Regions from separate parts of the Homo sapiens genome. Here regions 1 and 3 are each linked to region 2. Evidence: promoter capture Hi-C in 16 types of primary human blood cells and fetal thymus (Javierre and others, 2016). All regions are on one chromosome and are shown on one strand. The core of a region is centred on a gene start or on the middle of the fragment in contact, and the rest is flanking DNA. Distances in the headings are between cores, read along the strand shown.

Region 1 (3,117 bases), core at 147-2,646, about 28 Mb before region 2:
AATGTTCCTTTTTCTTTCTCATGTTGTTTTCTTTCTCTATTTTTTTCAAAATAGACTTTTTTAATTTTAATTTTATTTTTTTGAGACAGAGTCTTGCACTGTCGCCCAGGCTGGAGTGCAGTGGCGCGATCTCAACTCACTGCAACCTCTGCCTCCCGGGTTCAAGTGATTCTCCTGCCTCACACTCCCGAGTAGCTGGAACTACAGGTGTGCACTGCCACACCCAGCTAATTTTTGTATTTTTAATAGAGACAGAGTTTCACAATGTTGGCCAGGATGGTCTCGACCTCTTGACCTCGTGATCCGCCTGCCTTGGCCTCCCCAAGTGCTGGGATTAGAGGCGTGAGCCACGGGCACCCAGCCTTTAATTTTTATTTTAAGTTCTGGGGTACGTGTGCAGGATGTGCAGGTTTGTTACATAGGTAAACGTGTGCCATGGTGGTTTGCTGCACCTGTCAACCCATCACCTAGGTGTTAAGCCCAGGATGCATTAGCTATTTTTCCTAATGCTCTCCCTCCCGCCACCCCACCCCCAACAGGCCCCAGTGTATGTCGCACCAGGAAACCAAACAAATTGTGTGACTCGCTTTATTGTAGTGGTCTAGAACCAAACCCTAAATATCGCTGAGGTATGCCTGTGTTTGTATAATACTATTGTTATGGAAATAAAAGGGTCTCAATCCAGACTCCAAGAGAGGGTTCTTGATCTCATGCAGGAAAGAATTCCAGGTGGGTTGTAGAGTGCAGTGAGAAGAGATAGTTTATTGAAAGCTACTCCACAACAGAGTAGGGTGTCCTCAGAAAGCAAGTGGAGGAACATCTGTTAAGCTTTTCTTATATAGGGGTCTTGTCTATGTAAAGACTAAAGTAAGCTGTGCCTATGCGTGGGTGGCCTGACATTATGACAAAATTTATTATTCTATTGATTTAAAGAAAACTATCCCTGACATTTTAGTAAGTACATCAAAGTATAACTATAATGATCTTGAAAGCATTTATTGTTATGGGTATTGGACATCTGGACTTTCTGTTGTTCTAGGAGTTTGTCTTTGCAGGCATTACAGGGCTGCTTCCTTCGCTGTAAACACATTAGGACCATGAGTTGTGACTTGCAATGAATGTGCCTTGCTAGTGTCAAGATGGAGCTGAACTTAAAATGGTGTCACTCTGGGTCTCCTAGGTTTCATCTTCCCTAACACTATGACCACACCTGCTGTCTTCTTGATGTTTCCTTGTAAATGTTTTTAATTCCTTTCTTTTTAAATTAGAAATTTACTATGAAAATTTCACACAAATACTATGGAAGAGAACATTATAATGAGTTCTGTCTACTTATCACTCTGCTTTAACATTTATCAACATTTTCTTTTGCAATACCATATACCCCTTCTCAGTGGAGTTTTTTTTTTCTCAGTGGAGTTTTTAAAGCTAATATTATTCCACCCATAAATATTTCCACACGAATCCCTAAAAGTTAAGTCATCTTCTTTTTAACAGAGCTGCATTACTGACAAAATCAACAGTAATTCTTAGCCCCTTGGTAGAAATTGTGTGTTTACTAACGGACTTCCACAGATGTTTCCTTAGACCGTCCTTTCGGAGAAGAAAGAAAACCTGAGATCAGCAGAGTCTAATTCTCTAAACATATTTTTAAGCCGAGTCCCAGAGACAGACATAACTGGCCTGAAGGCATCCAGCATGCCCACATCAGAGTGTAGGTTCAATTCCCTGAAAACAAGTTTCCCACCTGCTGGAACTGAACACATTGGGTAGTAATTTCCCACCACTGTTCAGGTAGAACTTCCTGTCAGAAGCTGAGCTGTGAATCATGTTTAGGAGTTCACCAAGTGAAAGGAATTGTATCTTTACAACTCCTCATCCACACCCTCCAAAAAGGGGAGTAAGGAGGTTTCAGAATTTCCACAGAGGAGAAGCTAAGGGTCAGAGACTGCACTTAAAGCTTCATTGACATGGTAAGGCGATTGTTATTAATTATATTTTAACTTCAAGGTAAATAAAAACAGTCTTCTTTAGGTGCTTTTAGTAACACGTTGGCCATACTAAAGACTATTAGTGTTGTTATTATTGCTGCCTACTATAGTTGCACTTGAGGTATTTAGTGTGGAGGGTAATGGGTGATTCAAATCTCTATTCACCTTCCCACCCGACCCAGCCCTTCAGAAGGGGACGCCCGGACTTCTCCTCCCTCCTCTGGTGGTATCTCCCAGGAGAGGATTGTATTAATACTATTGGACTTCTACCCTATTTCCCAAGGCGGTTTCTCCCATTAAAAGTTGTACCACTCTTCCTGCAGCCTACTACTCATTCAGATGTCTCTCAGACTTTCAGGGTGGTTTCACTCAAGAGATGACTCCCCTAGTGACCTTTCCACCTTTTCCCTGAATGGCGTCTGTAAAAAATGGACTGTACTATCCTGATTCCTCCTATCATCTGCCTGTGGTTTCTCCCAGGATCCCCTTCACTTGGTGATTTTTCCCTGGCTCCTCTATTCCCTGGTAATTATTATCCTCAGTGTCCTGTATTCAGAAAGGTAACTTAGCTTTTCTAAATATAACATACAGCACCAGACCCACATTTCCAGTAACTTTCTCCTCCGAAATAGAAGCCTAGTCAGACAAGGGTCACACTCCAGCATCCTATGTAACTATACCTGCCTCGCTCTAGGAAACCCTGCCAGCGGCCAATTCCTCTGCTCTACGGAATGGATATGCTTTCAAAATGGCGGCCCACGCGAATAAACACCATAAGGGCGCGGCCATGTTCTCTGCCGGACAGCGCCACATTACGGAACCTGTGCGCTGTGTCTGCGCCCTGTTGACTGTTCGAGGAAACTGGCTTCCAAGTTTATTCAGAGCATGCGCCATATCAACAGCCTACAAAGGGGAGGTGCTAGAAGTCGGACCGGAAGTGGAAGTGGTCTTCCAAGGCTTTTTTGCCGCTGGTGTCAGGAGTATTTTCATATTCCAATACCGATAAATCTTTGAGGTGATTTTGGTTGATCACGATTGGGGTTTCTGTGGAGCCAGTAATAGGGGGTGTCGAGGTTGCCTGTGGAGTTAGTGATTGCGGTTTCAGGCTTCGGTGATGGGGTTCTGT
Region 2 (2,752 bases), core at 118-2,617:
GCTGGGATTACAGGCGTGAGCCACCACACCTGGACTAAAGACATTTGTTTTACTCGAGCTACAGATGTTCTCTAGATCAGTATTTGTTTTTTTTTCTTCTTTTTGAAACAGGGTCTCACTCTGTTGCCTAAGCTGGAATGCAGTGACACAATAATGGCTCACAGCAGCCTCGACCTCCCATGCTCAAGTGATCCTCGCATCTCGGCCTCCAAAGTGGATGGGACCACAGACACCACCATGCCCAGCTAATTTTTTATTTTTAGTAGAGACAGAGGCTTGCCCTATTTTTTCCAGGTTGGCATCAAATTCCTGGGCTCAAGCGATCCTCCAGCCTCAGCCTCCCAAAACGCTGGGATTACAGGTGTGAGCCACCTTGCCCCGCCCTCAGTAAGACTTTCAAATGAGTAACTGGTAGAAAACCCACCTGTCAAAAGTTATCTTCGCATTCATTATCAATTCAATCCCTCCTGCTAGTAAATCAGCCCGCACCGTGTTCCTGGGGATGCCCTCGTTTTGAACCTCTGGGGGAATCTACAGGGCGCTAGAGTGAGATCTAGGTGATGGCCTGGAACCACAGTTGAGTAGTCCTGTGTTTTTCCTTGGTGGTAAATTTTACAGTTATGTGCATTCATCCACTCATGCATTCGATGGTATCAGATCCATGTGCTCTCGAACAACCACCTGAAAAGGTTTCTTTCCACCTCGACACAACTTAAACTTCAAGACCCGACACCCACAGCCAGAACAAGTGCATGAAGTGCTCACCGGGACACGACAGAATTGTCAGGTTGCTGAGGCCAGGAGGACACCAAGCGAAGGTCACCGTGAACAGGAAGGCAGAGATGCTGTTCCTTATAGAGAAAAGGCACAACGCTGGATGTGGAGACTTTTTTTTTTTTTTCCATTAGAGATGGTTGGGGGGGGGGGTCTCCCTATGTTGCCCTGCCTGGTCTTGAACTCCTGGCCTCAAGTAATCCTCCTACCCAATCCGCCCAAAGCGCTGGGAATGACAGGCGTGAGCCGCCGCGCCGGGCCCTATGAGGCTTCTGCAGAGGGGAGCAGGGAAAATGGAAAGGCCGTGCCCCCCGCCTCCTCCCGGGCCGAGGCCCCAGCGCAGCCGCCTCGACCCCTGAGGACAGACCTGACTGTGGCTCTCAGAGGAGGGGCCGCGACTTGGGAGAGCCCACAAGATGCTCGAAATGCCCGAAAGTGCACGGGACAGGCTCCATTTCACTGGGCACCTCCCCTTTCCACCCTTCTACTCTCGCGTGGCTGCACCGGGACACCACCGAACGCCGCCCAGAAACAAAAACTTACCTCAGACGCCAACGGGAACGCGCTGTTAAGATGGCGGCCGTTATGCGCATGCGCCCACGCAGACACGCCGCGCACGCGCAAAGGCTAGGACCACCTAGGGGGCGGGGCCTCGGGTTCCCGGGCCCATCAGCTGCTGCGGCTTTTTCCAACCCAGAGCTGAGAGGAAATGCTGTTTACCTCCCCGAAGAGCGCAAGTGTCACCGGTAGGGGGTCTTGACTGCAAGCTGTCCAGGTTACTGGCGTTTTGAACAAAGAATTAGACAAAACGCCCAGCAAAGCAAAGAAAGAATGAAGCAACAAAAGAACAAGAGCTGGGATTTGTTGAAAACGAAAGCATACTCCACAGTGTGGGAACTGGCCAAGCGGCAGCTCAAGGGCTCCGAAACAGAACCTTCATGAGTCCCAATACCTCCTAGAATTTTCCCATTGGCCACTTCATGCTCACCTCCTGTAAATGAAGCGGTAGCCCGCGTTCAGTCTGATTGGTTGCAGAAAGCAGCCAACCAGAGTCTGAAGTTACAAAGGTCACACTCCTGTGCAAACATCTGATTGGTTGCAAAAAGCAACCAATCAAAGGCTAGGGTGAAGTTACGACGTTACAAAGTTACACTTCTATGCAAATGAAGACTCAACCGGCCATCAGTCTGATTTGTTGCAGACAGCCAATTTCCTATCTGCCAGCAGAAAAGGTCAAAGGGAGTAGCCTCTGGTCCTTTTGTTATTTAGGCGAGGAAAGTGAGGGTTTTCCTTTCAATTTAGTTCTAGGAAGTCGGCCTGAAACAGCCTTAAGTTCCCTGCCTCCCGACTCTATTCAGCCTCACAAGGGCTTGATTTTTGGTCATCTCACACTCAGAGACTAGAATGCTCCTATTGGAATTTGTTCAAAAATTAGCACATAGAGGCTGGGCCTGATGGCTCACGCCAGTGATCCCAGCACTTTGGGAGGCTGAGGCAGGCAGACCACTTGAGCTCAGGAGTTCGAGACCAGCCTGGGCAATATGGCAAAACCCTATTCCTATAAAAAAGACAAAAAACACAAAAATTAGGACGTAGTTAAGAGCATAGATAAGATTCATGCGGACTTCCTAAAAGTGAAAACACCAAGATCTGGGGTCGGGGAATCTAAGGCCAATTCGTGATAATTTCCTAAAGTTAAATCAAAGGAAAAACACCTGGGGCTGGGGGCAGGGCACCTAAGGCCAATTAACACAAACTTCCTGAAGCTAAACCAAAAGGAAAAACCCCATCTCCCCAAGATCAAAGACTACTCTCTCTACAGTAAAAAGTAAAGTAGAGGTTCCTCTTCAAAGACTTTCCTGCCCATCTAATTAGGAATAAATAGTAACTTCTGTTAGAAGCAAAATTTATTCAAAGACCTGTACTAATGTGTCCGGAATTGGTGGGTTCTTGGTCTCACCGACTCCAAGAATGAAGC
Region 3 (2,820 bases), core at 321-2,820, about 43 Mb before region 2:
ATGGGGAAACCCTGTCTCTACTAAAAATATAAAAATTAGCCAGGTGTGGTGATGTGTGCCTGTAGTCCCAGCTACTCAGGAGGCTGAGGCAGAAGAATAGCTCGAACCCAGGAGGTGGAGGTCACAGTGAGCTGAGATTGTGCCACTCCACTCCAGCCTGGGCAACAGAGCAAGACTCTGTCTCAAAAAAAAAAACCAACGAAAAAACTCCCATGTTCATTATATTTTGTAGGTATCCTTCCTAAATGTATGACCAAGGAATTACCACCAATAGGGAACAGTAATACAGGAGAAAAATGCCAAACAGTGACGCTGGAAAGACATGAATGTTATGATGTTGAAAATTTTTACTTAAGGGAAATCCAGAAAAATCTACAGGACCTTGAGTTTCAATGGAAAGATGGTGAAATAAATTATAAAGAAGTGCCAATGACCTATAAAAACAATCTTAATGGTAAAAGAGGTCAACATAGTCAAGAGGATGTAGAAAACAAATGTATTGAAAATCAGCTTACATTAAGCTTTCAGTCACGTCTGACTGAACTGCAGAAATTTCAAACTGAAGGGAAAATTTATGAGTGTAACCAATCTGAGAAGACAGTTAATAACAGTTCCCTAGTTTCACCACTTCAAAGAATTCTTCCTAGTGTCCAAACCAACATTTCTAAAAAATATGAGAATGAGTTTTTGCAGCTGTCATTACCCACCCAACTTGAGAAAACACACATTAGGGAAAAACCTTATATGTGTAAAGGGTGTGGCAAAGCCTTTAGAGTGTCTTCAAGTCTTATTAACCATCAGATGGTACATACTACAGAGAAACCTTACAAATGCAATGAATGTGGCAAAGCCTTTCATCGGGGCTCACTACTAACTATACATCAGATAGTCCATACAAGGGGGAAGCCATATCAATGTGGTGTATGTGGCAAGATCTTCAGACAAAATTCAGATCTTGTAAATCACCGGAGAAGTCACACTGGAGAGAAACCGTACAAATGTAATGAATGTGGCAAGTCCTTTAGTCAAAGTTATAACCTTGCAATACATCAGAGAATTCACACTGGAGAGAAACCTTACAAATGTAATGAGTGTGGGAAAACCTTCAAACAAGGCTCATGCCTCACTACACATCAGATAATCCATACAGGAGAGAAACCATATCAATGTGATATATGTGGCAAGGTCTTCAGGCAGAATTCTAATCTTGTAAATCACCAGAGAATCCACACTGGAGAGAAACCATACAAATGCAACATATGTGGAAAGTCCTTTAGTCAAAGTTCCAACCTGGCAACTCATCAGACAGTTCATAGTGGAAACAAACCTTACAAATGTGATGAGTGTGGCAAAACCTTTAAACGGAGCTCCAGCCTCACTACACATCAGATAATCCATACAGGAGAGAAACCATATACATGTGATGTATGCGACAAGGTCTTCAGTCAACGTTCACAACTTGCAAGGCACCAGAGAAGTCATACTGGAGAGAAACCTTACAAATGCAATGAATGTGGCAAGGTCTTCAGTCAGACTTCACATCTTGTGGGGCATCGGAGAATTCATACTGGAGAGAAACCTTACAAATGTGATAAATGTGGTAAAGCCTTTAAACAGGGCTCATTACTCACTCGACATAAGATAATTCATACCAGAGAGAAACGTTACCAATGCGGTGAATGTGGAAAGGTCTTTAGTGAAAATTCATGCCTTGTAAGACATTTAAGAATTCATACTGGGGAGCAACCTTACAAATGTAATGTGTGTGGCAAGGTCTTCAATTACAGTGGAAACCTTTCAATTCATAAGAGAATACATACGGGAGAGAAACCTTTCCAATGTAATGAATGTGGCACAGTCTTCAGGAACTACTCATGCCTAGCACGTCATCTAAGAATTCATACTGGGCAGAAACCTTACAAATGTAATGTGTGTGGCAAGGTCTTCAATGACAGTGGAAACCTTTCAAATCATAAGAGAATTCATACTGGAGAGAAGCCGTTTCAATGTAACGAATGCGGCAAGGTTTTCAGTTACTACTCATGCCTAGCACGTCATCGGAAAATTCATACCGGAGAGAAACCTTACAAATGTAATGATTGTGGCAAAGCCTATACTCAGCGTTCAAGCCTCACTAAACATCTGATAATTCATACTGGAGAGAAACCTTACAATTGTAATGAGTTTGGAGGGGCATTTATCCAAAGTTCAAAACTTGCAAGATATCACAGAAATCCTACTGGGGAGAAACCACACAAATGTAGCCATTGTGGTAGAACTTTTAGTCATATAACAGGCCTGACGTACCATCAGAGAAGGCATACTGGAGAGATGCCATACAAATGTATTGAATGTGGCCAGGTCTTTAATTCCACTTCGAACCTTGCAAGGCATCGGAGAATTCACACTGGAGAGAAACCTTACAAATGTAATGAATGTGGCAAGGTCTTTCGTCATCAATCAACACTAGCACGTCATCGGAGTATTCATACTGGAGAGAAACCTTACGTGTGTAATGAGTGTGGCAAAGCCTTTAGAGTGCGTTCAATTCTGGTTAATCATCAGAAAATGCATACTGGGGACAAACCTTACAAATGTAATGAATGTGGTAAAGCTTTTATTGAAAGGTCAAAGCTGGTGTACCATCAAAGAAATCACACTGGAGAGAAGCCATACAAATGTATTGAATGTGGCAAGGCCTTTGGGCGGTTTTCTTGCCTCAACAAACACCAAATGATTCATTCTGGAGAAAAACCTTATAAATGTAATGAGTGTGGCAAATCTTTCATTAGTCGCTCAGGCCTCACTAAACATCAGACA

What was found. The method cuts DNA at HindIII sites, captures the fragments that hold promoters and counts their contacts. A CHiCAGO score of 5 or more calls a contact.
Region 1: a fragment that was not itself captured here is called in contact with the fragment with the promoter of ZNF559 in region 2 in 1 of 17 cell types (naive B cells); the score reaches 8.3 in naive B cells.
Region 3: a contact is called between a fragment that was not itself captured here and the fragment with the promoter of ZNF559 in region 2, in 1 of 17 cell types (non-activated CD4 T cells). The highest score is 5.6, in non-activated CD4 T cells.

The regions. Positions count from the first base shown.
Region 1 is chr19:37,172,516-37,175,632 of GRCh38, reverse strand. It overlaps ZNF585A (zinc finger protein 585A), which reads left to right and starts at 2,938. Exons shown (of 5, transcript NM_001288800.2): 1 at 2,938-3,006. RefSeq lists enhancers at 2,712-3,006, 2,848-3,037. The HindIII fragment of the contact is 1,132 bases long and covers 831-1,962 here.
Region 2 is chr19:9,322,794-9,325,545 of GRCh38, reverse strand. It overlaps ZNF559 (zinc finger protein 559), which reads right to left and starts at 1,367. Exons shown (of 7, transcript NM_032497.3): 1 at 1,318-1,367; 2 at 766-851. ZNF559-ZNF177 (ZNF559-ZNF177 readthrough) reads right to left here and starts at 1,367. Exons shown (of 13, transcript NM_001384659.1): 1 at 1,318-1,367; 2 at 766-851. RefSeq lists a silencer at 964-1,103 and an enhancer at 1,274-1,523. The HindIII fragment of the contact is 3,488 bases long and covers 1-2,752 here.
Region 3 is chr19:52,154,953-52,157,772 of GRCh38, reverse strand. ZNF836 (zinc finger protein 836) reads left to right here. Exons shown (of 5, transcript NM_001102657.3): 5 at 233-2,820. Among named protein-coding and RNA genes, the nearest start is that of ZNF836, 15 kb to the left of the region's middle. The HindIII fragment of the contact is 2,093 bases long and covers 524-2,616 here.